2 separate regions of the Homo sapiens genome follow, and region 1 is linked to region 2. The links are contacts of gene promoters, found by promoter capture Hi-C in blood cells and fetal thymus (Javierre and others, 2016). All regions are on one chromosome and are shown on one strand. The core of a region is centred on a gene start or on the middle of the fragment in contact, and the rest is flanking DNA. Distances in the headings are between cores, read along the strand shown. Region 1 overlaps FOXP1 (forkhead box P1). Region 2 holds the start of FOXP1 (forkhead box P1).

Evidence for each region. The method cuts DNA at HindIII sites, captures the fragments that hold promoters and counts their contacts. A CHiCAGO score of 5 or more calls a contact.
Region 1: a contact is called between a fragment that was not itself captured here and the fragment with the promoter of FOXP1 in region 2, in 10 of 17 cell types (naive B cells, total B cells, activated CD4 T cells and 7 more). The highest score is 9.6, in naive B cells.

What each region holds. Positions count from the first base shown.
Region 1 is chr3:71,299,653-71,303,171 of GRCh38, forward strand. It overlaps FOXP1 (forkhead box P1), which reads right to left. Exons shown (of 21, transcript NM_001349338.3): 5 at 168-228. It overlaps FOXP1-AS1 (FOXP1 antisense RNA 1), which reads left to right. Exons shown (of 5, transcript NR_126463.1): 4 at 3,076-3,208. Among named protein-coding and RNA genes, the nearest start is that of FOXP1-AS1, 12 kb to the left of the region's middle. The HindIII fragment of the contact is 1,991 bases long and covers 860-2,850 here.
Region 2 is chr3:71,582,183-71,585,531 of GRCh38, forward strand. FOXP1 (forkhead box P1) reads right to left here and starts at 1,546. Exons shown (of 21, transcript NM_001349338.3): 1 at 1,389-1,546. It overlaps FOXP1-DT (FOXP1 divergent transcript), which reads left to right and starts at 2,761. Exons shown (of 1, transcript NR_182289.1): 1 at 2,761-3,349. RefSeq lists a silencer at 1,419-1,658 and an enhancer at 1,736-2,030. The HindIII fragment of the contact is 2,384 bases long and covers 420-2,803 here.

The DNA.
Region 1 (3,519 bases), core at 605-3,104, 280 kb before region 2:
GCAACCATTTTTCTTAGGACCTCCAAAAATACACCACATATGTCCTTACACGCAAATAAATACATGTTTATTTGACAAATACAGACCAAAAAGCAACTGAATTAAAATGCCTGGAAGGCAAAAGACACAGCCCTGGATATAACTTCACTAATCACATTTGCATTTACCTTTTTTGGCTTCTGTAAAGCAATCTTCAGTTATAGTCACCTCAAAAGGTCACGTCTTACCCTGAAAACAAAAGAGAACATCAAAATCTGAATGTCAAGAGAAGTAGCAACCACCTCTGCCAAGGACAGACACAAGGAAAACAACAAAAGCACTCAATTCTATTTAATGGCAAATGACTTTCAGGGTTAATAAAAACAAGTCCCAAGAATCTCTACTTATCTGGACCATATGCCTTTGAGCTCTTCAAGACAACAAAATTGACTTGGTGGGGAAAAGTCAAGGTGAAACATTTCAAATGTTGTGTATCAACTTTTTCTCATCTTGTTGTCTATCGATTTATTTTCATGGAGAATAATATGTGACTCATAGGCCTCTGTTTTTGGAAACCAGACTGCCACTTGAACGTGTCTCTGTTTGGTTAATATCCACAACATCTCTTATTTCATTAAAGCAAAGACTTATTTTTTTCCCCTTTTGGAAGAGAGTTAGGTCTTGTAGACAAGATGCTTTCTGCCACTTCGGACCTTTCAAAATGAATGAAAGCAGCACCATTTTCACTTTGGGGAGGGGCAGGGAGTTAATTGCTGGCGAAAGCTGTTCACAGAATGTTTTTCTCTTACCATGTATCTACCGGAGCTACTAAGTTAAATTAAAAAGGGTTCATGTCACATGAAACAAACAATTGAAATCAAGCTTCCTAAAACACAAAGAAACCATGGAACACATTTTACCCCACATCCTACTCCTGCATCTGCATACTCCCGTATGCAAAACAGTGTTTAATCCTTTAAGAAACATTACAAGCTGCCTCTTTCTGCCCATGTAACTGGGATCAACATATGGCACGAGTGAAAAGAAAAACATTTGTTTATTAATTTAGATCAAGTTACTAAGAGGGTACAGGATTCATTCCATATCCATTGACCAAATGCTCATATAATTTTTAAGGTGGCGAAATCATATCATCATTTTACCAAAATGTTAATATCTTTTTGCTCACTCTTCAGAATAGCATGTAATGAAGTGGTTTAATTTTATAGGAATATATCCCTGCTCATCCCTCTGCTGTCAGCCCTGAATGTGGAAAGGCAAACATCATTGAGAAGAGTAAAATCTTATTTCACGAGGGCTAAAAATTTGAAAGTGGCACTTTGGTGTGTACTATCTTTGAGGAATTGATCCGAGGCCAATTTATGACATTTCCACAAGCAAGTGTATGCAGATTCTTGCCATTAAGATTGGAAAAAGACGCAGGCTCTGAGTGAAATCATAATTTTCATGTTTACTGTAAGAGGAAATTGGAGGTTTTCACCATAAATTTTCACCATTTGGGTGGGGGAAAACCCTAGCTCTGGGACTTAAAATTACTATTTTGCAGCCTGACCAAAACCTTTTTGTTTTTACACAAAACAATTCAAATTGAAAATGAAAATCGTGTGCTTTACTGCTGATGTATGTCCCCAAGATTGGTTTCTCCAGTAGTGAGAAGTCTATTTCAGGGCAAGCAACGATAAGAAAGAAAAACAGAGCAAAGATGGTCAGGTCCTCAAGGTAGAGCTAAGATCTGCAGAGCCCCACTCTACACAAATCAGAGCTCAGTAGATACAAAGCGCACACAGAAATTTCTACATCTACCACTCATCAAATCTTAAATGTAAAGCAAGTGAACTTTGGCAGATCCTACTCAATTCAAAGCAAGAACGCCTTTTCCTCTCTCCTTTTTACTTGAGATGTTCTCCAATACATGCACTGTAAACTAATTTATATGTTTATCTATTGAGCTGTGTCTATTTTTGCATGTTTGGCAGTCAGACCTATAGTATTAGACTTTGCAATGCAGATGAGATTTGCCATCATATAGGCCTGGCAAACAACTGGACCTCATTAAAATTTAATTTTTTTAAAAAACTGCTGAAAATGCCTCCTTCGAATAAAGTTATCTCCAGTGCTGCATTTGAACCTGCGGAACACTTTCAGGTAAACACTAGACCTGTTTTTCTACTCACCTATCCACACAGTATAGTGTGTAAGTGAACACAGAACAAAAATAGAAGCTGATTCAGCCTCAGATTTAACCAGTATCATTTTTTTCCCCTAGGGATACTGGGGAAAGAATTACAACAAAATTATACAACTGACCATCCAATTTATAAATACTAAAACAATACGAAACTGACTACATTTAATTTTCACTTATACATAAAAAATGGGCAGTGGGATATAATCTCTATCTTTCTCCATTTTGAAGTTCCATAAATTTTGGTGCACATGCACGATTGGCCACTCATTAATTTATTTCTGTTGATTTTCATTTTTAGAGAAGGTATAACATTAACAAAGTAATCTAACAGACATTTTTCTAGTTTTGCTGAGAAAAAGATTAATAGTTCAACAGCTGTTTGCCATCATGCTAAAGTAAATGAAATGTGTCAATATAATAGACAAGAAAATTAGGGCTAGTACTGGGGCCCGAGTCTGCCTCATTACTAGCTTAGAAGAATTGGAAACCAACAACTAGCAGAAAAATAGGCATTTCATTTTTTCCAAAGCATACAACTTCCCTTTCCAATACTATATTTGCTATTTTCTTTAAATCACTTTTACTTATCAAATAGATCAACTATTTACCTGTATGCTTACTGGCAGCACAAGCACCAAAACTAAAATTAAATGATTATGCAAAGCTTTTATGTAAAAAAAAAAAAAAAAAAGATAAAGATAAAAGAAATACATTCCCCTCCAGCCCACTTGTCTTCTTTTAAAAAATGCTGTCTCCATACGAATTGCGTTTTTTTTTCTTTTTCTCTTTCTTTTTTAAGTTTCCTACTGGTTTTAGGTTTTAAAAGTGAGCCAAGGATATGGTAAACAGAAATTACTTATTTTCCTTTATGTCATTCTCTGTAACAGTTAAGATCCTGTGAACACCAGAATTGTTCCATGGCCTCTTCACTATTGATTGCAACAGTATCATTTACCTGAAGTTACACAGTGACCACAAAAACCATGTCCAGGACACCAAATTTCTACTGCGAACTCTAGGGTGAGACACTAAATGTACATTCCTCTTTCTCTACCTCCCCAACCACCCCTCCTCCCTAATTAGGACTGTTATTCTAAAGAACCCTCAGATTATTGCAGTATTTCAATATCATACTTTCTATGGATATATTTTGCCCTTAATTTAATCTGTGTGACATATAATACACGGTGTCCACTAGTATGTCCTACTTGGAACTGAGTTGCAGGTAAATGTGGAGGTGCAATCTCATTTCACAAAACTGAAAATGAAGAGTATCAGCTCTTTTTTTCCCCATTTATAGTATTTCCCCCTTCCCTTTCTTGACAGCTAAA
Region 2 (3,349 bases), core at 296-2,795:
CTCCCGGGACCAAGGCGGAGCTCACAACAGGTGGGGAGGGGGGCTCGTCGAGGGCCAAAAAGAAGAAGGAATCTAAGTTTCCGAGCGCGACGTTGTCTGAAAAGGAGGGAGGCGGGAGGCGGGGGCGAGGGAAGGCGGAGGCAGCAAATGACCGCGACCCCGCGGCAACTGGCAAACTCCTCGGCTCCCGGCGCCGCCGCCACCGCCGTGGTCCCCACTCGAAGCGCACGCCGCCTCGGCTCGCTGGCTCCAGGGAGTCGTCTCGGCGGGACAGGAATAGAGCGCAGGGAGCTCGGGAGGAAGGCTGCGCGCAAGCGAGGGACGGAGAGCCATCGGCCGCCAGGACAGGGCCGGAGGGACGAGGCGACACGCGCGCGACGCAGGACAAATCGGAGCTTGGGAAATCTCCCCGTCCCCCAAGCTTCAGAGGGGGGTAAAATCAGAAAATGTGTGTGATGGTGGGAGAGAGATCCGGGCGCGGCGACTCCTCGCAGCGCATCCGGCTCCCGCACCCACCCGTGGATCTGGCCACGGCTGTTGCGGACTCGTCTCGGGAAAGCGGAGGCCGAGCGCGCGTAGGGGTGCGTGTCTGGCTGGGGGTGCGCAGGTGCGTGTTTGAATTTTCCGGGCTCCGAGGGGGTGGCGGGAGAGCTTCCTCGCCGCTGACTCTCGGGGTAACGCGCGCGTGGCAGCGGGGAAGTTCCCCAGTGCGGGGCCCAGGGCCAGGCACCACAGTCAGTTTGCTGGGGCCCGCGGGGCAGCTCAAGGGCACCGAGGGGGCACACACCCGCGGGGAAAGAAGGGGAAAAGTTTGCTCCAAGTCTAAACTTTGGGCCTAGGAGGCGCCCGGCGCGCGCCCCCTCCCGCCGCGGCCAGGACCCGGGACCCCGCACCGGCCCCGCGCCCGGGCGGCCACCGGACGCCAACGCCGGACATCGAAAGTTGCGCCAGGCGGCCTGGGCTTATTGATTTCTCTCCCCTAGGCGATCGTGGAGAGCGCAGAGAGAGGCGTGAAGGGGCCTACGGGCAGGCGATCTCGCCTCCTCACAGTCGCCACCGCCCCCGCCCCCATTTGACTTATGCAAATAAACCCAAAGGGTGCGGGCGCCGCCGGAGCTCCCTCCACCCGCGCGCCGGCCCGCAGCCCCCACCCATCCCAGAGCTGGGCCTCGACCCGGGGGGGAGAGGAAGAGAGGGGAGGGCTGGGGGAGATGCACGTGGAGCCTGGAGGTGGAAAGTAGTTGTTTTTTTTTTTCCATTTTTTTTCTCTTTTTCTTTCTTTCTTTTTTTTTTTTTGTGCTGGTTGTTGTTGTTGTTTAAAGTGGCGGAAACAAGACAGGAGGCGGCTTGGGAAAAAGTGGAGCAGAAATGGAAAAATACAAACTCACCCGCTGCAAATGGTCTCTCGGTGCAAACTAAGGTGTTTTCGGGCCTTTCCCCGCGCGCGCCCACTCCCGCCCGCGCGCGCACCCCGCGCACACACTCACTCGCGCACACACGCGCGCACACACGCACTCCCGGGCGAGGGCCGGGCCGCCGCGAGTACAGCGTGCAACCGCCACACAATAAATAACAATAGATTCCTCCGCTCCGGACTAGCTTCCCGGAGCCCAGCCAGCGCCGGTGGCGGCGGCGGCGGCGGCAGAGGCGCGGGCAGCACCGGCCCGGGGGCGCACCCCGGCCCGACCCTCTACCTCCCGCAGGGGTCCCCTCTCCGCTTCACGCACCCCGCTGGGCACTCCAGCGGCCCCCCGAGCGGGAGCGGCTCCCTCTTTGCCGTTCGCCGGGGCGCTGGCGCCCACCCCCCTCCTCCCTCCCCCCTCCCCCCCGACATCCCGGAACAAATAAATAAATAAGGCGCGCGAGAGAGGCCAACACGTCGCGGAGGGAGATGTTGTTATTTTTTGCTGTTGTGCGTCCCTGACGTCACATCCACCTGCTGGGTAAACAACCGGGCTCCCAGAAAAAAAAAATCGCAATTGCCAAAGAATGGGGGGGGGGGTTGGGGGGAGGGATCCAGGGAGGGGGAAGTGAGGGGCGTCCAGGCAGGATTGGAAAGAGGAGAGGGAGGCAGAGCCCCGCGGACCAGAGAGAGGAAGGGAACGCCAGAGCAGTCCCTGGCAACAGAGGGATCTGGCAGGAAAGACCTGGAAAATAAGGGGCAGGGGGGCGGAGGGGGAGATTCCTCAGGAGATGGGAAATGGGGGGCCCATTCAGACAGCGGAAAAAACGAGAAGGGAGAGTGTTAACTAGGGACGAAGATGGGAATGCGATGGCTATTTGCTTGGATTCTGAGCTAAAAATATGAAAGGGAGGGGAGAGGACAGGCTAGAATGTGAGTTTCCTCCAGTTAAAAGTGAAAGTGTTTTGCCATCAGTGACAGTTGAAGGAGAGCGGGGTGGGAGGTGGTGTTTTCAACCCCCTTTCTCCCTCTCTCCCGTCCTCCCTCGGTCTCTCCTCTTTCTTTCTGCACTTTGTCCAATGAAAGAAGGCGAGTTCGGGAGGTGAAAGTTCAGCAGAAGGACAAACCCCTGTTTGCAAGGAAACAGAAACCCCGCCAGCCAGCGAGGGGTTTTCTCCCCTGTTTCTCGGAATCAGGAGAGTGTGAATGTGGGACGAGCTTCTGCCCCCTTGTCAGAGCCACTGCAGGAATGTGCAATCGAGTCCACTTTGGGGGAAGGTGGCTGCATCAGGAACTGTGTTCTTGCCACGACTCCTCTTAGGAAAACGCCTGGGGGCTAGCATGTCAGTCCGTTGTTTAACACAAATTACCTGCTCTCCCAGTGATCAGTCACGTGCAAAAAGCTTTGTCCAATTCTTTGAAAAGGTGAGATTTTTTTTTTTCTTTTTGCGGTTTTTGAAGTTTGGTTGAATTTAGAAATTCGAAGGAATAAACTAAGAGCCTGAATTAAATGTTTTGAAATATACATACATAAAACAAAAGACACTAGTATTTCTTTCACTTTTATCAATACGCATAGAGAAGGAAGCAGAGTATGTGTTTCCAAAACGTGACTTGGAAAGCTGTAAGACCTCTATGTCTTGTTGTTGTTGTTGTTGTTGTTGTTAACAGAAGTAAATTTTTTCAGACCCACCACCACAGAAGTGGCCAGACTCCCAAACCAGCATTTCCAGCTACTGGCTGGCTGGTGTACACCAGGCCAATTCTTTATGAGAATATATTAAAAGTCACCCCTGTGGATTCCTACAAAGTACTTCCCCTTGCGGGGAGGGGAGAGGCTTACTGTCCCTTTGGTCTTGAGACCAGCACAGTTGTAGATAATATCCTGAAAAGGTTATTATTAAATTCTTTCGCGTAATGCCCCTTTACAAATATTGTTAAACATTA